Regions from separate parts of the Homo sapiens genome. Here all the other regions are linked to region 2. The links are contacts of gene promoters, found by promoter capture Hi-C in human tissues and cell types (Jung and others, 2019). All regions are on one chromosome and are shown on one strand. Each heading gives the region's core, a stretch centred on a gene start or on the middle of the fragment in contact. The rest is flanking DNA. Distances are from core to core; before and after follow the strand shown. Region 1 holds the start of GAREM1 (GRB2 associated regulator of MAPK1 subtype 1). Region 2 holds the start of RNF125 (ring finger protein 125). Region 3 overlaps GAREM1 (GRB2 associated regulator of MAPK1 subtype 1). Region 4 overlaps B4GALT6 (beta-1,4-galactosyltransferase 6).

Region 1 (6,824 bases), core at 609-3,108, 460 kb before region 2:
GGCACAGGAAGCTGAGGCGCTGAAGATGCCGAGTGCAGTGTGTGCATTTTCAGTATCTGTGTACTCTGGTGACGGCAGTCTGAAATATGATTTTTTGCCAAATTATATAAAAGTGCAGAATTTTGTTTTCCTGTTCTTTTAGGCTATGTTGTTAGCACACCAAACACTTCATTGTGGTTTTCTGAGGAAGGGGCATATATTACTAATAGAATGTTCCTGAAGCTGAATTGATGTGGGAAAATACCTTTCCTTTCTAGTTTTAAGAGACTTCCTCTTGGCATCCAGGAGGAAGGATTCCTTGAGGTTGACACACATAGCCACCTTGGCACAAATGCCCGGTGGTGTGGAAAAACTAAAATGCATTTTTATGTCCTCTTCTCGCTCTCTGCCTTCAGCATAGATTTAACTCCCTTAAACCCATACACCTGTTGGAACCAGACCCTCCCAAAATCAGTTACCAGTGTGCCAGGCAATCTGGACTTTCCAGTGGTACCATTGAGATGGCATCCCTCAAAAGAGCAGCAGTTCCTGTTCTAGACTGTGGCTCGTCAGATAAATTCCACCATTTCTTGAAAGTCAGGGTTGGCTCATGAAAAATTAAACAACATGCTAAATGTGAAATGTCAACCCTTCATGTAAACTTTCCCTTCCATGTTGGTTTTCCTCATATCAGAGTGTCCTGGCTCACATAATATTCTAGCGGTCAAGTGTGATATCAAAGTTCACAGCCCTAGTGATTTTTTAGGTCTCCACATTCTTTTCCCTTTCACTTAATTGCCATGTGATCCCCAGAGCTAACTTGAAAGACAGTCCCTGGCTAATGCCTTTTGCAGTATCTATATCCTCATTTTCTATGAAATTAAGTGTAAAGCCCTTGGCATGGCATAGAAGGTTCTTCCCTTACGTGGCTGGGTCAGGGTATCAAATGAAGAGTTCGTTTGGGTTTTAGAGTGGCTTTCTGATTTGAGTAGTCCATTGAAGGAGAGAATTTGAAAGCTGTTCTATACTCTTAATGACTGTCTGCACATGTCCTGCCTGATACCATGGTTGTTTATGAAAAGTATCTTTTTTTTTTTTGAGACGGAGTCTTGCTCTGTCGTCAGGCTGGAGTTAAGTGGCGCAATTTCAGGTCACTGCAACCTCCGCCTCCTGGGTTCAAGCGATTCCCCTGCCTGAGCCTCCCAAGTAGCTGGGATTACAGGCACGCGCAACCATGTCTAGCTAATTTTTTGTATTTTAGTAGAGATGGGGTTTCACCATGTCAGCCAAGATAGTCTCGATCTCCTGACCTCGTGATCCGTCCGCCTCGGCCTCCCTAAGTGTTGGGATTACAGGCGTGAGCCACTGGGCCCGGCTGAAAAGTATCTTAATAAAGCTGGATACAAGGTCAAGCGTGGTAGCTCCCAGCACTTTGAGAGGTCTAGGTGGGTAGACTGCTTGAGCCCAGGAATTCAAGACCTGCCTGGGCAACATAGCAAGACCTGGTTTCTACAAAAAATAAAAAAGATTAGCCAGGCATGGTGGCATATGAGTGTAGTCCTAGCTACTTGGGAGGTTGAGGCAAGAAGATCACTTGAGCCCAGGAGTTGGCGGCTGCAGTGAGCCATGATAGTGCCACTGCATCCAGCCTAGGCCACAGAGAGAGACCCTGTCTCAAAAAAATAAATAAATAAAATAAAAAATGAAATGAAAAAATAAAGTAAATAAAATTTTAAAGCTGTATACCATTTGGCTTGGGGAAAAAAAGGAGTTGCAGTGACCTACAAAATAATATAGAGTGAGAAGTTGACTCAGTGCATTGATTACTCAATTCAACAAACATTAATTGAGCACTTGCTGTGTGCCAGGCATGGTAATAGGAGCTGGTAAAACAGAGGTAAAAAAAAAAAAAAACTCTTTGTGTCCACAGTCAATTGTTGTCTAGTAGGCAAAGCTAATATAGGAAGATAATTAATCAGAGTGCAACTAGTACAGTCAAAAGAGGGTATTGCAGGTGCAATGGTAACACAGAAAAAGGAATCTCCTTGGAGGAGGAGATACAGCAGCTCATGGAATGCAGGAAGCTGGAGCTGGAATGAAGTTTTCACAGTAAGAGAAAAGGAGAAAGGCATTCTAAGCTGAGAGAACAAGCTCTACAAGGGTATGCATTACCATGATACATTTGGGCAACTACAAGCAGGTGCTACCCCAGATCATAGGGTATTAGAAGGTAGCCAAACAGGAGTGAGGTTAGGGAGGCAGACCCAGCCACATAAGGGAAGAACCTTCTACGCCATGCCAAGGGCTCTACACTTAATTTCATAGACAATGACGATATAGATACTGCAAAAAGCATTAGCTAGGGACTGTCTTTCAAGTTAGCTCTGGGGATCACATGGCAATTAAGTGAAAGGGGAAAGAATGGGGAGACCTAAAAAATCACTAGGGCTGTGAACTTTGATATTGCACTTGACTGCTAGAATATTATGTGAGCCAGGACACTCTGATATGAGGAAAACCAATATGTAATATTTTTATCTTGCAAAGCTGATAATGCAGAGAATTAACAAGTTATGCATGTATAAACAGTAGACTCACAGTTAGGAAGCTGGCAAGTGTCTGTCACTTGAGTCCTGTAGTGTCATTTACCTGATTCACCTTTGGGCTTATCAATAGCATATACAGAGTCTTCATGATCACTGCCTGGGTCTGCTGGGTAGGAGGCGGGTTCACTGTGGAATAAATTAACCCCACAGACTCTAGATTTGCAATGAAGTCCCCCAGCTAGGTTTGTCATTTAAAAAGTGTTCTTCTACTCCTTGCCTGATATAACTATTTTCCCAAATCTAATCATTTCTTATTTTTCAAATCTATTCAAATCGTCAGCATTTATCTCTTCATCTTTTCTATAAATTTTGCCCTTTAAAGCCAATGGTTTTTAATAATAATAGCAAATGTTAATACTTCCATAGCACTTCCTATGCATCTGGCACTATTCTAAATGCTAAATGTATATTAAATGATTAAATTCTCATATCAACCCTATGAGATGAGTACTATTATTATCTTCATTTTTCAGAGGAGGAAACAGCAAGTTTCCCATGACATTAAATAGAAGCAGAGCCACTAATCAAATCCAAGCCATCTGGCTCTGGAGCTGATATTTTAATTCACAAATCTCAGTTTGTAAAGGTACTTAGTAGGAACAAGGGACCAGTGCATCAATTGTTGCCTTAAAGAAAACTTTTCTTGGATGTTCCTTTTCATAAACTTCAAAGTCCTGTAAGCTTTGCCCCTGCACCAAGTTGTAATGCTTTTGTATACACAGTTTGCATTGTTCCAACAACCTTAAGAAACATGTTTGGAAGTACAGTTCAGCCAGACTGAAAGATTACCCCTCTCAACTGCTTTTTGTTTTTGTTTTCGGCAGTTTAACCAAAACTCTCCATCTCACAAATAAAATCCTTCTGTAAGAGTTCTTCCAGGACATGAAACTTACTAAGAATTTGCAGCTCACTAAAATTTCTTCCTTTTAATACTCAAGATTGAAATAAAACCTTTTCTGCAAGGTCAGCAATAACAGATCTAATGTAAGTCCTTTATTGATTTTTAAAAAGTTGATTACATTAATCTTTTTACTTTTTATCTTGTCTTTAGGTCAAAAGTCACCAGTCCTTTTGTGAGAGGAAACTACTTCTCTTATTCTCTGAAGCTTTTAAAGAGAATATAAAAGTAACAAAGTCATTTTTTTAAAAATCAGCCTACCATATAAGGGTTTAGGATCTACTTACAGGTTGAAAGACCCTTGACCCTGCCCAATCTTAGATGTTTCCTATGTCATTTTTGGATTCTGAGCTTTATTTCCAGAAGTGATTAATTATTCAGAAAAAGAAATTAGCTGGCACTTAAATCTTTAAAGTTTTGAAACTTTTTTTTTTCAGACAGAGTTTCGCTCTTGTTGCCCAGGCCAGCGTGCAATGGCACGATCTCGGCTCACTGCAACCTCCGCCTCCCGGGTTCAAGCGATTCTCCTGCCTCAGCCTCCTGAGTAGCTGGGATTACAGGCACCTGCCCCCACGCCCGGCTAACTTTCTGTATTTTTAGTAGAGACGGGAGACGGGGTTTCACCACGTTGGCCAAGCTGGTCTCAAACTCCTGACCTCAGGTGATCCGCCCGCCTCGGCCTCCCAAAGTGCTGGGATTACAGGCGTGAGCCACCGCGCCCGGCCGAAACACTCTATGTGAGCAATTCTTAGAACTTTATGGACTTCTGATTCTGCATACACTCTATAGTAAAATACTTCCCACTTTTTTCCAAGACTTTTTCAAAAAATCAATGTGAATGACCCAAAGGTCAAAACTTTCAGATGAATTTTGTGAAAATTATCGCTAATGCTTCAAAGTGAGAGGATCAGGAAGGTGGGTGTAGAAGAATCTGTGTTTTTCTTCAAATGTTAATGGAGTGGTTTATTAGCACAGACCTTTTAAGCCAGGCCACGAAAAGGCAGCGGGATGTTTTCAAGTCCCCTTGGGCTGGCGAAGCGGGTACTTGCTGTACCTTATCAAGCACTGAACATTGAATACGTGTTGAAAACAGAGCAGATACGCAACCTTAGCAACCACTCACCTCTGCTATTTTAACAAAATGTTAAGCAAGCGAAAGAAAGAGAAAGAAAGACAGAAAGAAAGAAAGCAGATTAGCATACAAGGCAGGACATGCCACCTTTATATTCTGAGCTCTGTCCACAGTGAGCAGGCCGTGTCAAACATCGGGAGAGACAGAGAATGATTGATCATGCAAAGCAAACTGTAGGTTTGAATCCCAGCACGGCCATCTACGAGTTATAAAATCTTGCCAAACTACCTAATGTCTTGGTACATATACCTAGAAAACGAGAATGATCCCAACCTTTAAGATGAGAAGAGAACTGAATGGGAAAAGCGGGTGAGAACAGCTGACCCCAGCAGCCTCCCAGTAACCTAGTTTTCCCTTCCCATCTCCGTGTCTACGGTGTTTGGTGGCCTCATCAACTCCCGTCGCCTCCAGCAGCTCGTTCACTCAGTGAAGGTCCTAGACCGAATGGCCACCTTCCTGTATGTGGGTACTCATCACCCACCACCTTTCCGCTTTTCGGTGCTTTGCCCTTTTTATCTTATCTAGTAGCCAAAGCTGAGACTGTTGGGAGTCATTTCCAGCTCCGATGGTAGAGGAGTAGGGTTGAGGGGAAACGCCAAGGCGTGCTCCACGCCTGCCGTCCGCAGCCCCGTTGGGCTGTGGTACTCTTCTGACCAAAGTCTGGGTCACCGGGAAGCAAGAGGGAGCGCCACTAAAGGTATCTTTTGTGCCTTGTATTTAGCCACCGCATTGCCAGGATGGGAGTGGAGGCGGACGGTGCCCGACACCACGACTCAGGGAGCGATACCTGAGCTCGCTCGGCAATTCCCGGGCTCCGGGGACGGGCCTGGGCGGGGAAGGAGCCGGGGCGCGCAGCAGCACCCGGCGAGACTGCAGGGCGCCCGAGTGGTCGGACGGGGGAGCGAGAGCTAAAGCTTGCGGAGCGCGCCGAGCCGCGGGCGCTGGCGGCCCCGGCCGGGGAGCTGACGCGAGCCTGCCGGGCCGCGGGAGCTGCGGGAGGCGGAGGCCGAGCTGGGGGCGGAGCGGGCGGCGCCTGGGAGGCGGAGGCGGTGTCTCCCAGAGCTGCGCAGGCGTTGCTCGCACCTTGTTGATTAGTCAGTGCTGGGAGCGCTGCTATGGCGTTTCTCAGACCCGCGGCTCCTCCTCACACGCTCGAGGCGGAGGGAAGGAGGGGTAAGAGGAGGAGGAGGCGAGCGGGCGGCCGCCGCAGCTGCAGACCCAGGGCCAGAGGAGGAGGCGGAGCGGGAGCCGCCGCAGCCACCCGGGCCGCCGCCGCCGCCCGCAGCCGCGCGGCTGCTCTGAGTCTTCTCCGGGCGTGAGGGCACGCGGGGCGCCCCAGCCATGCCCCGCAGCGGCAGCTGAGCCGGGCGCCGGCCCCCTCCCTCCGGGCCGCCCCAGTCGCCGCGCCCCCCCGGCTGCCCGCGGCCGGAGCTGCCCGGCGCCTCCCGCGCGCCCCAGACCGCGAGCGCGAGCAGCGGCGGCCGCCGAGGCGCGGGTGGTGCCGGTGGCGGCGGCGGGGGAGCGCGGGACAGGAGGCTTCGGGGAAGATGGACCCGGCGCCCTCGCTGGGCTGCAGCCTCAAGGATGTGAAGTGGAGCTCGGTGGCCGTGCCGCTCGACCTCCTGGTCAGCACTTACCGGCTGCCCCAGATCGCGCGCCTGGACAACGGTGAGTCCCAGCTGGGGCGCGGGGCAGACGGGCGAGGACAGCCGTCTCCACGCGGGTGTGCGCGCGTGTGCTGGAGAGGGTGGGACCCGCGGGGAGTGGGCTGCCCGCCCCTGAGCGCCGGAGTTGGCCCGAGCGGCTGCCGCAGCCCTGGCGCGTTGCTCTCAACTCCCCCCAGCAGCAGACAAGGAGGTGGAAATCAGAGTCCTTGCAGTATAATTAAAAAGGACGCCCTAAAAAAAAAGTCAACATAGGGAGACCTCTGCAGATCGTAATCTTGGACGCCAGATATCCCTCCCCACCCTCCTGCAAGAATTACTCAACCAGGGAAACCCTGAAGAGTTATCTTAGGCAACTTTCTTGAGAATATCATTGTGCTCCGGGTGGCATCTTAATTTGGGTGCTCTCCTCCCTATCTCCCCCATCCCCCGCCAAACAGATTTAAAGGAAAAGCTCCTGGGTGACCATTGAAAAGGATCACATTTCTCAGAGACCTTGTATTACAGCTTGTCTGTTTTGTTTAACCCAACTGAAAGTAATTTGG
Region 2 (6,631 bases), core at 319-2,818:
CACACACACACGTATCCACGAAAAAAAATCAAAGCAAAGAGAGAAGGCTGGGTGCAGTGGCTCACACCTTTAATCCCAGCACTTTGGGAGGCCGAGGTGGGTGGATCAATTGAGGTCAGGAGTTCAAGACCAGCCTGGCCAACATGGTGAAACCCCATCTCTACTCAAAATTCAAAAACTAGCCGGGTGTGGGGGTGGGCGCCTGTAATCCCAGCAACTCGGGAGGCTGAGGCAGGAGACTCACTTGAGCCTGGGAGGCGGAGGTTGCAGTGGGCGGAGGTTGCAGTGAGCCGAGATAGCACCACCGCACTCCAGCCTGGGCGACAGAGCCAGACTACGTCTCTCTCTCTCTCTCTCAAACACACACACACACACACACACACACACACAGTAAACAGAGAGCACAAATTCACAGCTCCAACTCCACCAGTTATTCAAACACACATTAAGGATGTGCCAATTTTATATAGGGACTTTGTTTTTAAATTCTTCTTAGAAACGACCACGGCTTTGCACCAACTGTGAGTTTTAGCTAAGTACTATGCGGTTTTGAGAAAGTTATTTTACTCTGTAATTTCCGCCGGTTTGGAGAGACCGTGCGTAAAGCAGGTAGCCTGCCACCTCCTGTTACGTTGTGGCTGGGTTTTGAAGGAGTACATTCAGGGGCTTGGCGGCTAACGTCCAAGCCCCACCCTAGCAGGTTGTTAAACTCTAACAACTGTGGAAAGTCACTCGGAAGCTCCAGTTTGACTTGCCCTTTGAGGGGCTGGGTGTCTGTGTTGGGAAAGGGTAGCAGGGGTGGGGGTGGAAAGACACTTTGCACAGATCCTTGTTTGCTTAAGACGAGCCTCTGTGGGCATTCTGGGAACACGTGCACAGCTCCAGCAAAACAAAACGGACCCGGGTTTCTGGGGCAGAGGGAAGCGCAGCCCGTTCTACCGTGTTCAGCGGGGTAACTGCGCTTTGCGGGAGCCCCTGCCTTGTAGCTGGAGCTCGTTTCCTTTCCGTGCCTGGGCGAGCGCTGGTTCTCCAGCCAAGAGCACCCTCCCCAGTTGGCGAGCCCTGGCTCTGGGCGGGACCCGTGCCTGGATCCCCTTCTCTGGAGTTCCGCACCTGGGCTTCGGGAGCTGAAAGCGCAAGGGGGCTACAGGACCCGCTTGTTTATTTTTTCTCCTCCCGAAATCCTGTGTCACCTTCCGACCCGCGTTTTCCCCGTGGTCCTGCATCCGACGGGTCCAGGTTTCTCCCTGCAGCAATTTCCTAAGAGGCTGTCTTCCGTCCCCCTCCTTCCCCACACCATGCCCTCAGCTTCCCCACATCGCCCTCCTTAGGGGTGGGCGCAAACCGAGCTCCCCTGGAACTTACACGTGGCCACAGCGGGTCCGGACAGGCTGGTGTAACACCTCAAGGCACACGGCGCAGTCGAAGGACGTGACGGGCAACTCCGGGTCCCTCCTGCGCTCCAGGGCCCGCGCGGTGGCAGAGGCGGGCGCCGATTTGCCGCTGTCGGTGCTCAGCACGGAGCCCATCGCTGTGCCTCTCGCCCAGACAGCTGCGAAGCACTCAGTGCCTGCCGCAGGGTTGTTTTGTTGCCGTGCGGTGGAGGAAGGAAGTCCCGGCCCAGCTGCGATCGCCGCCTCCCAGCTCTCCCAGCTCGCGCAGCCCAGAAGCCACCTCCGCCGCTGCGCCCAACCCTGGTCTAGGGCAGGGCGAGCGCGCGGCCGCGGGGCTGAGATCTTCGGCAAGCCGCCTAGGTTAAGGCGCGGAGGCGGAGGCGGCAGCCGCCCCGTGCTCTGTCTTGTGGTATTGGGAGGATTGAAACCTGAAACCTCAACTGCAGAGAAGAGGACTTGAGGCAGCAGTAAACCTTCCAAGCTATCACACACAGCTGCTTTCCCCACTGTCAGAAGTTAAGTGCGGGCGTGGCCATGCTTAATGATAATCAGAGAACAGCCGCTTTTAAGGTGAAGTGGAAGACCATCCTCCACTGTTGTCATCACAATAAGCTGCAAAAATGACCTATGACCTATGATTGGGCGTCTCCTAAGACGGTGCTATCGCTACTCTGTCATCCAATCAATAGTCCATTAATGGAGAGATAGCCTGGGTAGTGGAAAGAGTCCTGGAGATTAGGATTCCAATCTTACCTCTCCTACAGAGATTCTAGTGCTAAACCCTGCCATCTCCAGTTTCCTCTGCGGCTCAGGATTTCCTCTGTTGTTTGTACGCTCCCCACCCCGCCCTTTAAACATGATCAGCCAGGCGCGGTGGCCCACGCCTGTAATTCCAACACTTTGGGAGGCCGAGGCGGGCTTGAAACTCCTGCTTGAGGGCAGGAGTTCGAGACCAGCCTGGCCAACATGGTGAAACCCCGTCGCTGCTAATAATACAAAAATTAGCCGGGCGTTAATTTACACTTTTTACGAAGACTTATTTAGTGCCCACTGCACGCCAGACTCGGTTCTAGTGATGAAGACACAATCGTCAACAAGCAAACAAAATCCCAGTTCTCACAGAACTTACTTTAAAAAACAAAAACAAAACTTTGAGATAATTATAGATTCACATACAGTTGTAAGAATAGTACATAGTATATAATACACATATACAATAATATATAATATAACACATGGGATATAATAACGCATATAATACATGTACGTATTTAGCAGGCCATAAACTTCACCCAGGCTTTACTTTTAATTAGGAGATATAGGCCGGGTACCGTGGCTCACGCCTGTAATTTCAGCACTTTGGGAGGCTGAGGTGGGAGGATCACTTGAGCACGGGAGCCAAGATCACACTACTGCACTCCGTCCTGTGCGACAGAGTGAGACCATGTCTCAAAAAACAAACCAAGCCGGGGCAGTGGCTCACGCCTGTAATCCCAGCACTTTGGGAGGCAAGAAGGACAGATCACCTGAGGTCAGGAGTTTGAGACCAGCCTGGCCAACATGGTGAAACCCTGTCTCTACTAAAAATACAAAACTTAGCTGGGTGTGAGCTACTTGGGAGGCTGAGGCACAAGAATCGCTTGAACCGGAAAGGTGGAGGCTGCAGTGAGCCGAGATCATGCCACTGCACTCCAGCCTGGGCAACAGAGGGAGACCCTGTCTCAAAAAACCAAAACAGGCTGGGTGCAGTGGCTCACGCCTGAAATCCCAGCAATTTGGGAGGCCGAGGCAGGTGGATCACAAGGTCAGGAGTTCAAGACCAGCCTGGCCAACATAGTGAAACCCCGTCTCTACTAGAAATACATTTCTTTAGTAAAAATTTTTGTACTAAAAATACAAAAATTAGCCAGGTGTGGTGGCACATGCGTGTAGTCCCAGCTACTTGGGAGGCTGAGGCAGGAGAACCACTTGCACCCAAGAGGTGGAGGTTGCAGTGAGCCGAGACCATGCCACTACACTCCATCGTGGGTAACAGAGCGAGACTCTGTCTCAAAAACAAACAACAAACAAAAGGAAGATACATGTAATCAATCCATAAACAAATGAACAAAATCATTTCAGATAATCAGAGCCATGAAGAAGATAAAACAGTAAATGGCAATGAGGAGAAGAATAAGCTCAGAGAAGAATTTTTGGATGAAGTGACATTTGAGCAGAGCCATGAATAATGAAAAGAAGTGAGCCATTCAAAGATTTAGGAAAAAGCGTGGACTGGGAACAGTGAATGAGGCAGAACCAAAGAAAGGAAAGACCTATGGAGCTGGAGCATGGGTGGTGGGGGGCAGGCGGTGGGGGGGGGGAAATAAGATGAAAAGGTAGTTATTCCCATCTTCAAAAGGAAAACAAAAACCTCCCTTTCATCCCACTTATGCCTCAACTCCTGCCCCATATCCGCTTCAAGGCCAAATCTCTTGATCTGATCCTCTACATTTTGTCATCATTTCTTAATTATTCACTTCTTATTCAGTCCAGTCTGGGTTCTGAACCAACCTCTCCACCTCCATCTGTCCAAAAACTGCTTTATTATCAGTGTCACTGGTGACGTTCATGTAACTAATTCCAATAGATTCTTTTCAGCTATTTTTTTTGCTTGACCCCTCAACTATGTTTGTTAGTGCTGACCATCCCCTCCTTCTGGAAACACTCTGACTTTCCCTCTTTCTTTCTGGCTATTGTTTCTTCTCCCTTGCCAGAGTCTCCTTCTCCACTGGCTCTGGGCTGGAGATCCTAGGATTCTGTCTTAGGACCTTTTCCCTTCTCCTCTCTCTCTCTTTCTCTCTTTCTCTTTCTCTCAAAAATCACACAGGTTCTGTCACTATTTCGGTTCCAAAAACTTTCACATCTTTATCTCTACCCCAGGCCATTCAAATGTCCAATAGCCTAATAGCTTACATGACTGACCATTTGACATAAACACCCTCAGCCCAATGTCTCCAATAATGAACTCATTATAGTAGCAGCCTCCTCCAGTGGTTGATCTCTCTTTTAGCAAATGGCACTATGATCCACTTTATAGCTCAGTCTAGACACCTGGAAGTCATCCTTGATTTCTTCCTCTTCCTCATTCACATTGAATCAAGCATAATCACAATCCTGCCTCCAATATGTATCTCAGTAGTTCTTTTTTTTCTGAGATGAAGTCTCTCTCTGTCGCCCAGGCTGGAAGTGTGCAGTGGCGCAATCTCAGCTCACTGCAACCTCTGCCTCCTGGGTTCAAGTGATTCTCCTGCCTCAGCCTCCTGAGTAGCTGGGATTGCAGGCGCATGCCACCACACCCGGCTAATTTTATTATATTTTTGGTAGAGACGGAGTTTCACCATGTTGGCCAGGCTAGTCGTGAACTCCTGACCTCATGATCCGCCTGCCTTGGCCTCCCAAAGTGCTGGGATTACAGGCGTGAGCCACCATGCTCATTTTCTTCTATTTCCATAGCCACCGCTTATTTTAAATCACTGCATTCTCTTGTGTGACTTAATGGCAGTAGTTCCTAACTGCTCTACCCGCATCCATCATTGCCTCTCTCCAGTTTATTATCCACATGGCAACTAAAGTGATCTTTTGAAAAGCAAACATCTTGTGTCACCCCATGCACAAAATCCTTTAATAGCTCTCCTAATCCTTAGGATTAAATTCCAAATCCTTAATATTATCTAAAAATTCCTGCAAGACTTACTTTTGATGGCAGGAATCAGAAATTCAACTAAAAGTGCCTCGTTCAGTAAGGATATTTATTATCGACCAGCTCAGTGGCTTACACCTGTAATCCCAGCACTTTGGGAGGCAGAGGCAGGCTGATCATGAGGTCAGGAGTTCGAGACCAGCCTGGCCAACGTGATGAAACTCCATCTCTAATAAAAATACAAAAATTAGCCGGGCATGGTGGCACACACTTGTAAGCCCAGCTACTCAGGAGGCTGAGGCAGGAGACTCGCTTGAACCCAGGAGGTAGAGGTTGCAGTGAGCCAAGATCATGTCACTGCACTCTAGCCTGGGGCAACAGAGCAAGACTCTGTCTCAAAAAAAAAAAAGATATTTATTATCGAATATGGCAAACTAGTCCAGGTGTAAACAGTTCCAGAGATGTCTCAGCAGCTCAATTATGTCCTCACAGCCTCAGCCCCTTGCCATCCTCAGCATGTCTCCCTTATGGCTGAAACAGTCAATTCTATACACAACCTCCAAAAACAAAAAGGAAAGGGTAAGATTTCCCCCTTGTAGCTCTCTCTTCTTTTACATGGGAGAAAAACGCTTCCTAGAGGCCTTCCTCTGCAGGCTTCCCTTCCTATCTAATTGGTCAAAATTGGGCACCATTGCCATCCTAAATCAGTCACTAGCAAAAGAGAATGGGAGCACTCTGATTGGCTTAAACTTATTATTTATTCCATAGGACTTGGCACCTCAGCTCTCTGAAACAACATAAATAGGGTTCTTATACCAAGAAAGGAGATGAGACAATTGGATGGACCAACAGTAAGGTTTCCCAAAGTAACTATTTGGGGGTCTTAGCTGCTTTCACTCTCCTCCCTATTTTTCAGGCTTCTAAATTTCTCTACTTATTTCAGTCCTTGAGTGTGTTAAGTTCTCTCTGACTCAAGGCCTTTATCCATGCTTTTATTTTTCTCTTGGACTTAACACTTCCTACCCAACATTCTGCCATTCATAACTAAACTTTCTCAAATTTTTGTGTTTTTGTTTTTGTCTTTGTTTTCCCTGAGATGGAGTCTCGCTCTGTCCTCCAGGCTGGAGTACAGTGCCACGATGTCAGCTCACTGCAACCTCTGCCTCCTGGGTTCCAGCAATCCTCCTTCCTCAGCCTCCTGAGTAGCTAGGATTACAGGTGTGAGCCACCACGCCCGACTAATTTTTGTAGTTTTAGTAGCAATGGGGCTTCACCATGTTGGCCAGGATGGTCTTTCTCTTTTGACCTCATGATCCACCCACCTCAGCCTCCCAAAGTGCTGGGATTATAGGCATGAGCCACCACCCTTGGCCAAATTTTGGGTCTTAGTTTAGAAATCTTTCTTTTCTTTCTTTCTTTTTTTTTTTTTTTTTTTGCTCTGCTGTCCAGGCTGGAGTGCAGTGGTGCCATCATGGCTCACTGCTGCAGCCTCAACCTCATGGGCTCAAACAGTCCTCCCACCTCAGTCCCCTGAGTAGCTGGGACCACAGTCATGTGT
Region 3 (6,633 bases), core at 2,456-4,955, 430 kb before region 2:
TTTCAGAATGGAAATTAACATATTTCATTGATTCTAAGGTGTACATTTTCATATCTCTGAAATCAGCATGTGTCTTATAGTTAATGGCATGACATAGTTTTATCAGCAGCATTGTGTCTTGGTGGTTGTCAAACAATGATTGTCTTGCAAGTGATGGCATTCTAAATTGTATGAATTGTGGTAGTGCCATGGAGTATCTTTGGGTCCAGTAATTCAATGTGTAAAGCAAACATAAGAAACAAGGACTTTTTGTGAATGTCCCAATACAGGGTGGGAGATAATCTAAACTGAAAATCAAGTAGTATTCCCTGAACCATCCATCCCTAATGGAGAAAGTGTTAGCTTACTCATTTAACAACAGGTAAGATGAGGTCACTATTATATACAACCATAGTGTAATTTTTTCTCATATTACGTTTTCCAACTTTAAAGAATAACTTAATTTTCATACTCACCCCACCCCCCTATAGATTCTGACCTCTATGAAGGCAGAGATTGTGTCTTTCATGTTCATCATTGTGTCCCCAGCACTAACACAGTTTCCAAACTGTGTTACCTTGGTAACATGTAGGTGTTCAATAGAGCCTTGTTTAAGGATTCTTCTTTGTACAATATACAACACACATGCACACAGGCATGTGCACACATAGTGTAGTTGATCGAATGGGGGTCCTGCCAGCAGATTTGTCCACATCGAAATCCCTGGAACCTGTGAATGTTACTTTCTTTTGAGAAAAGATCTCTGCAAATGTAATTAACAGTCTTAAGAGGAGTTCATTCTGGATTACCTGAGTGGGCTTTAAATCCAATGACAACGTACTTATGAGAGAAAGACAAACAGAGATTTGAGACAGAAAAGGAGGCAGGGTAACGATGGTTGCAGAGATTGGGGTAATGCAGCCACAAACCAAGGCTTACCTGAGCCACCAAAAGCTAGGCGAGGCAGGGAACAGAATCTCTCCTAGGACCCTCAAAGGAAGTGTGGCTGTGCCTGCAGCTCGGTTTTCGACTTTCAGCCTCTAGAGCTGTGACAGAATAAATTTTCTATTGTTTGATGCCATTCAGTTTGTGGTAGTTTATTATAGCAGTGGTATGGTTTGGCTGTGTCCCCGCCCAAATCTCATCTTGAATTGTAGCTCTCCTAATTCCCACATGTTATGGGAGGGGCCCAGTGGGAGATAATTGAATCCTGGGTGCAGTTTCCCCTGTACTGTTCTCATGGTAGTGAATAAGTCTCACCAGATCTGATGGTTTTTTAAGAGGTTTCCCCTTTTGCTTGGTTCTCATTCTGTCATTCTTCCTGCGGCCGCGTAAGACGTGCCTTTCACTTTCCACCATGATTGTGAGGCCTCCCCAGCCACGTGGAGCTGTGAGTCTATTAAACCTCTTTTTCATTATAAATTACCCAGTCTCGGGTATGTCTTTATCAGCAGCGTGAAAATGGACTAATACAAGCAGTCACAGTAAACCTGTTAAAGACACATACTCAAGCACACACCCACGTGTAAACACACACACATACATACCTATATAAGTTTTGCTACCCTATAGTTAATAACATGCCAAGTTTCTTAAAAAAAAAAAAACGTAGAAGTTATAAGTATAAAACCCCCTTCTCTGGATCCTCAAAGTAACAGTTTCCCCTAACATTCATCAGTAGGCTGATGGGTAAGTGGGAGTATGGTATGTGGTTTCCACACTATTCATTTAACAGCTGTGGAGCATGTGCCTGCTGCTGTACAAGCACAGTAACAAGGGCTAGGTGCACAAAGATGAATACATGTGATACTCATCCTCAAGGAGTTCAGAGGCCCACTGAGTAGGTAGGTGCTTAGACAATTAAATACTGTCATGTGATAAGCAAGGAAATGCTTCAGCCCAGAGGCCAGTTAATGTTGCCTACAACTCTTGGGACAGGTTTAATAGAAAATGTTAATTGATCACTGAACTAGTTGTTCAATGAGTAGAATTTTGTGAGGTTTTAAAGAGGGAATGGTGGCCTGACAAAGGTTTGGAACGCCTGAACAGAGGCATGTTAGGGGAGGGCAAGTTGGGAAACAGATTTTGAAGAGCCGCAATATACTGACATTTGACTTTTCTCATCTGGCTAACTTGGTGGCTCTTAACATCCCTTCCCTTTCCGGGACACAAATGACAGATGGTGTTACAACAGAATGGATTGCAACAGAATTCACTGGGGTCCTAAATTTGATGAACTCTATTATAAAAATGGGTAACAAACTACAGTCATGTATGTTATAATAATATGTAAGCTCCTAATATCAGTAGAGTCTCAGGAAGGACTTGATGCAGAATCTTGGGCCATTGTGCACGTCTTGGCTAGCTAATGATGACCTCCATCTCTTCTCCTTCTCAAGAAAGCATGTCAGAATATGAGTGAAAGTCAAGTCTTCATAGAACTTGAATTAACTCTAACTTGATTTAACTCTAATTTTTATTTTAAAAATACCTTTTGTCACCGATTTCAGTATTTTACTAAATGCTAGTATCAAGCAACATTCTGCAGCTGGCTCTGTCACTGCATCATGTTGAAGATCATTATCCAGGCAAATGGCTCATCCTCATTCCTGTGGTGCCTAGCACAGTGCCTGTTTGCAAACATGCTCCTCCAATGTTTGTTATACAAACAGTGGGAAGTGCTGAAGGGCTGTAAATATGGGAAAGGCCCAGATTTTTTTTTGTTTAACAAGGGTTATTCTGGTCATTTTGGAAGATCATTTAGAGCAGAAAAAGTTTGGAATTAGGCAATATTTGGAAGCTATAGGGTTTATAATCAAAGAGAAAGAGGGCCTCTAGGCAAAACTAGATTTGTGGGAATGTAGTGGAGCAGGGTGAGTGGGAAATATTATAAGGTAAGATTTCCAGGATTAATAACTGGATAATGGAATATGAGGAAGAGGGAAGCATTAAGTAGTCCTGAGGTTACTGACTTGGGTACTAATGCCCTTATCAGAGATAGAGAAGCAGGTTGCAGGTGAGTGTATGAGGCAGAGTAGGCGAGATTTGGTGGCAGTAGCAACTCCAAAGTGTTAGTTGGTTTAAAACAGCAAGGGTTTATTGTTCACTTGTGCTGCATGAAATTTTGAAGAATTAGAATAGTTGTGGGAATAAGAAAGAATAATTCTGGTCTTCACAGTTGAGATGAAATGAGCTAGCTTGGGGGTGGGGGGATGGGGGCTCTGCTCTCCATCATCATCCTCATTGAGGATCCCAGGCCTAAAAGCCTCAGTTTGTGCTTCCATGATTGTTTTCATTCTTGTTTTTGTTTGAGACAAGGTCTCACTCTGTCATCCAGCTCTGGAGTGCAGTGGCACCATCATGACTCACTGCAGCCTCAGCCTCCCAGGCTCAAGTGGTTCTGCCACCTCAGCCCCTCTAAGTAGCTGGGACTATAGGTGTGTGCCACCACACCTGGCTAATTTAATTTTTTTTTTAATAGAAATGAGGTTTCCTTATGTTGCCAAGGCTGGTCTCAATCTCCTGGGCTCAAGCAGTTCTGCCTCAGCCTTCCAAAGTGCTGGGATTACCACAGCTGTTGAGGAAAGACAGAATATGGTAAATCATGCCCTGGCCCCTTAAAGCTTCTGTTCAGAAGTGATGCACCTTGTATCCCTCTTACATGTCATTGTTACTGGCAAGACCCATGGCGACACCCAACTTTCAACAGGGTGAGGTACCATCTTTCCATATGCTGGGATTATGACTCCAGTAAGTGCTAAAGGCTGGAGGTATGAGAAAGCAGCAAGATAATTTGTGGCTATGTTGAGGTATTGAAGAGGAAATTCAGTTCAGGAGTCAGAAATCTGGGCTTGCATCTTGAGAGAATTCAGGGCTAGAGAAATAATACTGGGAAATTTCAATGTAATGGTCATAAATCAAGCTACCGAGTGAATCACATTGATCAAGAGAGAATTGAGCCAGTGCTGATGATGGTAAAAGATCAAGGTTAATGCTTGTGGTTACACATGTTGCAACCCCTAAACAGTTTTTTTTTTAGCAGCTTATTAGAACTTTTAAATAATTGTATGTAACAGTTGGCATAAGGGTTGAATTAATCACTTAAACAGGATTTAGCTTTTTTAAACTCCAGAATTGCTGACTTGCATTTAGGGATTTAAAAGGTACCCTTAGATTTTGCAGTAGGATTTCAGCCAATTTTCTAATCCAGCAGGGAAGAGAAAGTATTGCAAAGGATAGCCGTTACAGTCGGAACAGAAGATCAGTTATAAGTTGATTGATACTGATTGCTGAGTACTCAGAATATTAGAATATCTTTAAAAATTTTCTGACTGGTTGTGCCACAGACAGCAAGATATTAACTTAACCTTACTGTAATAATATTCTTTTTATAGCTGCAATTACTGGCAAAGGGAGGTAGTTAATGGCACTTTTTCCCATTGGCTAGTGTTCTTACATAAGGAGGCTTGCTTTTTCTGTCCATTCTTTTTAAAGGTTCCTATGCCTTTGCCTGCCCAATGTCCATAGGGGTCTCCACCTAAATTATTCACCTTTTAAGCTTTTTATGTAGACATTGGTGATTACCCAAAATAGACTCTCCTCCCTTCAAGATTATGTATTAACAGGAAAATGAAAAAACAAACCTGGTTTACTGCATGTCACCATTCTCCCTGCAAAGGAAATTTTGAAGAATTAGAATAGTCGTAATGATAAGAAATAATAATTCTGGTCTTCACAGAAGATGAAAGAATATTTATTAAACTTCTACCGTGCCTGCCCCCCAACCCTTTGTTTTTTTGAGACAGTCTCACTCTGTTGCCCAGACTGGAGTGCAGTGGCACAATCACAGCTCACTGCAACCTCAGCCACCCACCTCAGCCTCTTATGTAGCTGGGACTACAGGTGTGCACCACCACACCCAACTAATTTTTTTTAAATATATATGTTTTGTAGAGATGGGGTTTCGCCATGTTGTCTAACTTCTGGACTCAAGCGATCCACTTGCCTCGGCCTCCTAAAGTGCTGGGATTGCAGGCGTGAGCCCCCGCACCCAGCCTAACTTTCTGCTTTTTAATAACACTTTACTATGAATGATTAAAAACTTTTTAAAAAAAGGAAGCTATAGCTTTTACCTTCTTAACAAAGGCACATAAAACTGTTAAAAGTAACTCTTCCATATTCCCCCAAACAAATCCGTTGGTGTTTATTTCTGTATAATAATTATAGTTAGTGTTCATTGAGGACTAATTATGGTGCCAGCTGCTGTACAACACTTTACATACATTATCTCATTTACTTCTCAAGAGCTCTTTGACATAAGGAATAATTTGCTCAAGGTCACATGGCTGAAAAGCGGAGAAGCCAGCAACGGAGGCAGTTCTAGATCTTGTGCTTTAAACTCTGGCCTGCCTTTCCTAATTCTCAGACCAACAAGTAGTGTTTTCCCATTCGTATTGCTTATCATAAAATGAGAGAGTCTTCTGTCCATCATCTTTATTGAAAGTTGAACCACTGTAAGCAAAAATACCAAGGAGAGGTCTGATCCCGCTATTGAAATAAAAAGAACCATGAGGGCCCTGCAGAATTCAACTGGACCTTGGGGATTACTCACTGAAGAAGGTTTTCTATTTTGAATGTTTATTGTCTTCCTACCCCAGTCTCCCCAACAAGAAAGACTTGGGGTGGAAGGTGACATATAACAGCAAAGTAAGAACTGTTTGCATTTTTCCTTCTTGGTTTGTAAAAGACTTGTTCCCAAATTGTCCTCAAAGGTACATAAATACATACATATGATATTTGTATATATATAAACACATATGTATAGTAATATCCTTCATTTACCTTGGGGTGAGACTTGAAGAAACTCCAGCCTTCTTTCTAGAGAGCCTCTGCTTCTGGTATTTACCTGTCACAAAGCCCATACCTGTTGTCAAACCCTTTCCTGTAACTGAGGAGTGCATTTTACGATTATGGAGTAGAGTAAGTAGCAAGTGCTATGGAAATTAAGCCAGAAACAGGCCAGTGCCATCACAAATGACAAGTAAGAGCATAACAGACATGATCGGGGATGTGGTCACACTTAGGTTCTGACATCAACAGATAATCTCCCCTCCTCTAGTATACATTTGTACCAGGTGATAATTTTACATTTTTTATTGATTACAACATTAGCAGTGATTCTTGCTTAGCTTTTTGGAGATCCTGTGAAAGCTGCAAATAGATAGGTATAAACACAGTTCTTCACATAATTTCAAAGTATTCATGGACCACCCTCCACCTGTGTGAAGCCAAGGACTCAGACCCTGAGTCCTTAATAGTACTTTGATAAATGATAGGTGTCTCTTTGACAATGGGGCAAGAGAGATCCCACAATAAACCCCTTTAGAAATACACCATAGCAATTCTTTATTATCTATGTCCATATATTTATTTGTGAAATGACATAATTTTCATTTTACACCAGGTTCTTCAGTACTCTCTCACAGTATACTTAGCCAATGCCAACTGAATTATTGGATATAACACACATGGTATAGGATTAGGAAGGCAACACCTCAATAATAACAAAGAATTTCAACAACATAACTTCTAAATTATGTAGTTTCTTGGTTCATCCATGGCACATCTTTTAATTAATATGACTTGAGAAATGTC
Region 4 (6,677 bases), core at 2,058-4,557, 370 kb after region 2:
CAGTGCTTAAAGTTTGATAGGTATTAATTTGATTCTCCCTTTCCTTCTCCCTCCTTCTTTGAATAATAGAGCCAGACTTTACAATGGTCAAGGAAATGAGACACCTAGGAGAAATGTGTGGAGTTTAGAAGTTTTATTATTAGCTATGTATCCTTACATTTTTTTACTTAAAAAGATAGTTTTCATTGATAATAGAGAACAATGCAATAAAATACATAAGTATAAAATCTTATAATAGTTACACAAAATAATTGAATATGATTCTTTCCCAAATAATAATTAGAAGGGATTTGTGTAAGAATTAGATCTACTTAGATGAAAACCATTCAAGTACAAGTAATATTTACTTATAGTCACTAAAAGTGAAGTTAAGGCTTAACACTGGTGTATTTGATTATTCTGTTGTAAACTTCTTTGATTTTTACTTAGTATAGCAATGGAAACACTGGCACTGGATTTCTGTAAAGATAAAGTGAATTTTTCAAACTAGAATACAGATAAAATGTGTTTCATACATTTCAGCAGTGTTTCATATTCAATAGTGGCCAATTACACTATAAAGCCTATTTTAATATGTATATTTTATATGAAGAGTATGAGTGAATACTTCTTTCTTGTTTGTTAGTATTTATAGATTTTCCAAAGGGCAAATCCACATTCAGCTTTATTGCATTTATGTAAGATTCTTTGTGCTAACAAAGTAAAATAGAAGTTTCACCTTGTCTAAGGCTAAAAATTAATAAGTGCTTAGTGTGGATGTTTTGATTTTAATTTTTATGGGTGAGGTAGAAATGGAAAATGTCAATTGCATACTCTGCATTAGACTGAAAATAGACTTACCTTTAGTTTTCCTATCTTTTAATTCTTATTCAAATAGAATACGTTTGCAGTGACCTTTATATATTCTGTTCTTACTATTTGTGGAATAGTTCCCTTTATGGTTTAACCCTGATAGTTTCTATAGTTGCTAACCTTATGAATATAACAAAAGCTCCAAGGACTTCTTGAGATGGATTTAAATAATTCAAATGAAAATCAGCAAAGAAGGAAAAGATAAGCAAACAAACGTCAGCAAAGCTCAAATAATGCTAATGTAACAAACTGTCATGCATATGTTTATTGTAAAAAAAAAAAATGAGATGGGAGCCATTTTAGAGTCAACAAGTCATTGATGAACAGCCGCTGTGCAGCGGTCCCTGTGTTGTTCATAGAAGCAGGTACGGGAGAGACAAGACTGAACGTGGTCATGTGTGTGGCAGCTTGGAGCAGGTAACACACTTGGAGAAAGGCATGCTATGAAAAGATTATGAGGCCGGGCGTGGTGGCTCATGCCTGTTTCCTAGCAGTTTGGGAGGCTGAGGCAGGTGGGTTACTTGAGGTCAGGAGTTCAAGACCAGCCTGGCCAACATGGTGAAACCTGTCTCTACCAAAAACACACACACAAAAATTAGCCAAGTGCAGTGGTGCGTGCCTGTAGTCCCAGCTACTTGGGAGGCTGAGGTGGAGTATCGCTTGAACCTTGGAGGCGGAGGTTGCAGTGAGCCGAGATCGCACCACTGCACTCCAGCCCAGGCAACAGAGCGAGACTTTGTCTCAAAAAAAAAAAAAAAAAAAAAAAAAGAAAAAAGGTTATGAATGTGACAAAAGGGAGACAGCAGTTTATTTTGGAAGGGAAAGGACGATGTCAGAGAGAGGTGTCATCAGAACTGGGTCTTACAAGATAGCTGAGAGAGAACAGCATCACCACAAGGGAGGCTCTGTGTATTCCCGGACTGGAGAGTGGTCGGCTCTGCCCAGAGAGGGTGTGTTAAGTGGCGTGTATGGGAAATGAAGCTGGCTAGAAGGGTCTTGTGTAAAGGACTGAGGAATCTGAGGGCCTTGTGGGTTCCATCATTCCTAGGCATCCATGAGGTGAGCTTCAGAGGGAGAAGAGCCTGTGAGCTTACATGCAGACAGTTGATTTATGAGCCTGTATGCATTTCTCTCAGGTGACAGTGCATGATTTTCAAAGGGTCTAGGGGCAAAAAAAAAAAAAGCAAAAATAAACAAAAAACACCACTGCTTTAGGGAAATGGAGAACCATCGAAGGCTTTAGGCAGGTGAATGATGGACTAGGATTGTATTTTAGGAAGATTATTCACATGAGAAGCTGAACAATGGGTGAGAATGGAGAAATACTGGGATCAGCAGGAGACCAATGAGGAGCTTGCTGCAGGAAGCCGACGGGCAACAACAAGGGCAAGTGCCAAGGCTGTGGCGTTGGAGAGAGGAGAAGGCACAAAAAAGAACCTACAGGGTGCCATTGGCCAGATGTGGCGACCAGTTGAGGGGTGAGGGTTAATTTCCAGGTTTCTGACTTGGTGACCATGAACTGAAGTGTGATACAGAGTAACCGTCGCATTTGGAGGATGGGGAAGTTAGTGGGTTCCGTTTGGGCCGTTTTGTTTGAAGTTCAAGAGGGTTAACTTGGGGTCTGCCTTTAGTAAGAGATCCGGACTGAACATCAGAGGAAGTGAGAGGGGAAGAAGGCTGAGAGTGGGTCCCTGAGAAAATCCGTACTTGTGAGGTGAGTGGCGGTTAACAGAAGAAGGGGAGACAGGAACCTAGAGAAGCCAGAGGGTGGTGTCTGGGGGGCGAGGCAGGAACACATCCCAGAGAGACAAGACTGCTGTGTCTTGTCACACACCTCCAGACAGCAGGGAGAGTGAGGAACTGTGAAAGGGCCACTGAATTTGGTGCAGAAAACGAATGGAGAACACAGCAAGCACGAATTCAGTAAAATGATTGGGAGAGAAGCAAAGTAGACTCTTGAGAAGTGCGTCAGAAGTGTATGTAGACTGTAGGTGAAATGAGAGAAGTTTGGTGGCAAAGGGAAGGAGATTGGGGTAAAGGATCTGGAGGAGGTGGAGGTAAGGGAAGAGCTCTTTAGGAAGAGATGGACTTGAGCATGTTGTAGGCATCATGGAAAGAAAGGATGGAGAGAAGAGGCCGGGCGCCGTGGCTCACGCCTGTAATCCCAGCACTTTGAGAGGCCGAGGCGGGCAGATAATGAGGTCAGGAGATCGAGACCATCCTGGCTAACACAGTGAAACCCCGTCTCTACCAAAAATAAAAAAAATTAGCTGGGCGTGGTGGCGGGCGCCTGAAGTCCCAGCTACTGGGGAGGCTGAGGCAGGAGAATGGCGTGAACCCAGGAGGTGGAGCTGGCAGTGAGCTGAGATCTCGCCACTGCACTTCAGCCTGGGAAACAGAGGGAGACTCCATCTCAAAAAAAGAAAAAGATGAAGAGAAGAGAACTGGGAAGGATGAGGGAGAAGCACAAGGGAGGTCTCCATAGAGCCAGGTTAGAAAGTGAATGGAGACAATGCCTCAGGTTGAAGAGTGAGCATGGAAAGCCTCAGGAATGCCTCCTCCCCTGAGGAAGCCCGCGGTTTATTTGGAGATGAGGTGGAGAGGTAGGGTGCTCGTGCCTGCTGTGTCTGTTTTCCTAGTAAAGCAGGAGGCCGTGTGTCCCTGAGGGGATGGCCAGGAAGGATTGAGCAGCTTGAAAGGGAGGAGTAAGTATTTAAAAAGTTGTCATAGGGAATGAAAAGTGAAGTCAACTAATCATAAATTAGAAGGTGACTAACAGGTTATCCTAGAGAGCCCCCCACCCCACCCTGGTGGAGTCACAATACAAAAAAAAAGTGACACTTGTTTTTGCTGAAACCTTACTATGCTTGAGGCAATATGTTAGGTATTGCCACCCAAATGATGGGATTAATCTATATGCTTACGTGCTTTCTTTAGTGCTGTTTATTAGGTAAAGAATTGGAGCATGGATAATTGTCGCTGCAAGGATGGGACCTGTAGCTCAGGTGTGGCAGGTTGAGGGGGTGGTAGATAAGGTGTTTGTCAGTGTGTAGGTGCTGTGATCGGGTGAAGGTCATAGAGCTGCATTTCTCTTAAGTGTGATTCAGATGATCTACACTTGTTAAAAATGCAGCTGGGGGCTGGGCGCGGTGGCTCACGCCTGTAATCCCAGCACTTTGGGAGGCCGAGGTGGGTGGATCACAAGCTCAGGAGATTGAGACCATCCTGTCTAACACGGTGAAACCCCGTCTCTACTAAAAATACAAAAAATTAGCCGGGTATGATGGCAGGAGCCTGTAGTCCCAGCTACTCGGGGGTGAGGCAGGAGAATGGTGTGAACCCGGGAGGCGGAGCTTGTAGTGAGCCGAGATGGCGCCACTGCACTCCAGCCTGGGTGACAGAGCGAGACTCCGTCTCAAAAAAAATGCAGCTGGGATACCTGTTAAAAATGAAGCCTCTGAGCTAAACCCTAGACTGCAAAAGTCAGGGTTCTTGGTTGCAAACCACAGAATATACTTTATCTGATTTAAGAGAAAAAAGAATTCATGAAAATATATTAGAGAGCCCAGAGACAACCTGGGTGGCTAGAGAATTAGGTTGAGAAATTGAGCAGCCAGAACAAGGCTCAGACCGCTTTGAAGCATCTCCTGCTGCCACTTGTCAGGGCTTAAACCTCCTACCAGCATTGCTCAGGTCTGGAGACCAGAAGTGCCACTTCTTGGTTCCTGTAAAGCTAGAAGCTTTTGCCACCACTTCGGGTGCATTTGGTCATATGACCACTCCTACCTGTTAGAGGGGTTTGGAGAGTGGGTTCTAGCTTTTTCCTTTGAAAGGCAGGACCCAATGGTGGGTAGTTCAAGCCGTTGAAATGTGTTCAGTTAAAGCCAGTGGCCATAAACGTGACCCATGAGCTTCAACTGACACAGAAACTTTGACAATGTGGCCAGTCAGCTGCATTTTAAACAAGCACAGCTGGTAATTCTTAGGCACACATCAAAATTAGCAAACCACTTTATACAGAGGCCAGTGTGGATATAGCAGAGAGGACTTCAAGTCTTCATGGAATTGAAGAGGGACTTCATGGGAGGGGAGTGGGAGAAGGTGAAAGAGAAAGAGGCTTTAATGAGAGGGTGCAGTGTCAGAGTTGAAAGCCAGTCATTTCTAGGTGACTGTGGTTCAGGGTCTGGACACAGAGCTGGGTGTCACTGTGAATTCACTATTGTGAATATTGCTGCAATGAACATAATAGTGCATGTGCCTTTTTGGTAGAATGATTTATTTTCTTTTGGATATTTACACAGTAATAGGATTGCTGGATCAAATGGTAGTTCTGTTTTATGTTTTTTGAGAAATCTCCAAACTGCTTTCCACAGTGGCTGAACTAACTTACATTCTCACCAACAGTGTATAAGCATCTCCTTTTCTTCCCAAGCCTCGCCAGCATCTGTTGTTTTTTCACTTTTCAATAATGGCTTTTCCTATTGGTATTTGATGCTGTCTTATCGTGGTTTTAATATGCATTTCTCTGATGATTTGTGATTTGGAGCATTTTTTTTTGTTTGTTGGCTACTTGAATGTTTCCTTTTAAGAAGTTAGTATCTTTTGCTCATTTTTTTTTTTTTTTTTTTGCTCATTTTTTAATGGGGTTGTTTTTTGCTTGTTGAATTGTTTAAATTCCTTATAGATTCTGGATATTAGGACTTTGTTGTATGCACAGTTTTGCATAAATGTCTTAAAGAAATATTTTAGCACCTGATGGAGCCAGGGAGTAGAAATGCAGGTAGGTGGAAGCAGGGATGAGACAGGAATCTTCCTACTCATTCATTCATTCATTCATTCTGTGTCCAGGCATTGCCCTTGGCAGTGGGGATGTGTGACTAATGCTCTGTCTTATGTTTAGAATGCTCAGGTTTGGTTGCTTCAAGAAAACTTGAGTAATAAATCGTTTGTTAAGCAGAGGTTGTCAAATTTTATAAGTCGAGAAGCTTAAGTAAAGCATTTGAAATAGGCAGTATCTAGTGTTGGCTTCAGAAAGGACAGGAGGTGACCAATGGCTGGATGACTCATAACTGTTCAGCCTCAGAGCTGTGCTTAGGAGGCAGCACAGAGTGTGGGAGGGAATGTCCCATCTTGTCATAAAAATGCTTTTCTAGCTTTGGAGAGGAATTTACCCTAAGGGACATTTCTAGGGGAAATTCAGGTCTTTCTCTGACACTGTCATCAGCTCTTTGAGCTGTGAACATTTAAAACCCTGAGGGTAAAACAGACAAAAGCCAACATATCCAGAATTAGGTTTTAGATACCAAAAAATAGATATAGGCTCCAAGCAAAATGAAATAGTTATTTAAAACTATTGATTTATAGAACAAACAACTCTCTGGAGATTATATGCCTTAAATTTTACTTGAAATGTTAGAAAAATATAAACGTAGGTAATTCATAGGTTTTGAATATTTGTTATTTTAAGAATTATATTTTAATAGAAAAAGTAAAATCCTAAATCATGTCATGTGATACATTATCATCCATAGCACAATAAGCCTGTTGTTTGGGCCCATGCATGCCTGGCTTTCCCAGATGGGCAGCATTGCTGCATATCTTGCAAATTCAGCATTAGGATATAGTAAATGTCCTACATAACCAATGGTGCAACTAAGTTACCCTCACACATGATAGAAGCAGTTTGGCACACACGACTGGAAGGTAGCTTCCAGCTGACTTGAGTTCCCTGTCCTTCACCTTGACCTTCTAGGTACTTGGCAGCCCCTCCACTCTTCAGACACTCAGTTCTCCTGCTCTTTCCTTTCTAACCCCAGCGCCACCTT

The links. The method cuts DNA at HindIII sites, captures the fragments that hold promoters and counts their contacts. A contact is called where the count stands out against the background at its distance.
Region 1: a contact is called between a fragment that was not itself captured here and the fragment with the promoter of RNF125 in region 2, in 1 of the 25 tissues and cell types used here (dorsolateral prefrontal cortex).
Region 3: a contact is called between a fragment that was not itself captured here and the fragment with the promoter of RNF125 in region 2, in 1 of the 25 tissues and cell types used here (dorsolateral prefrontal cortex).
Region 4: a contact is called between a fragment that was not itself captured here and the fragment with the promoter of RNF125 in region 2, in 1 of the 25 tissues and cell types used here (small bowel).

Annotation. Positions count from the first base shown.
Region 1 is chr18:32,469,767-32,476,590 of GRCh38, reverse strand. It overlaps GAREM1 (GRB2 associated regulator of MAPK1 subtype 1), which reads left to right and starts at 5,709. Exons shown (of 6, transcript NM_001242409.2): 1 at 5,709-6,283. The coding sequence starts at 6,163. RefSeq lists a silencer at 5,435-5,954. The HindIII fragment of the contact is 5,505 bases long and covers 1-4,610 here.
Region 2 is chr18:32,013,762-32,020,392 of GRCh38, reverse strand. It overlaps RNF125 (ring finger protein 125), which reads right to left and starts at 1,568. Exons shown (of 6, transcript NM_017831.4): 1 at 1,366-1,568. The coding sequence starts at 1,529. RefSeq lists enhancers at 807-856, 501-1,373, 1,673-1,967, 1,374-2,246 and a silencer at 1,673-1,967. The HindIII fragment of the contact is 18,790 bases long and covers 1-6,631 here.
Region 3 is chr18:32,447,807-32,454,439 of GRCh38, reverse strand. All of the region lies in intron 1 of GAREM1 (GRB2 associated regulator of MAPK1 subtype 1), which reads left to right. Among named protein-coding and RNA genes, the nearest start is that of GAREM1, 20 kb to the left of the region's middle. The HindIII fragment of the contact is 4,181 bases long and covers 1,615-5,795 here.
Region 4 is chr18:31,648,379-31,655,055 of GRCh38, reverse strand. The region is part of intron 3 of B4GALT6 (beta-1,4-galactosyltransferase 6); the gene reads left to right. Among named protein-coding and RNA genes, the nearest start is that of B4GALT6, 33 kb to the left of the region's middle. RefSeq lists enhancers at 2,627-2,696, 2,707-2,806. The HindIII fragment of the contact is 9,490 bases long and covers 1-6,677 here.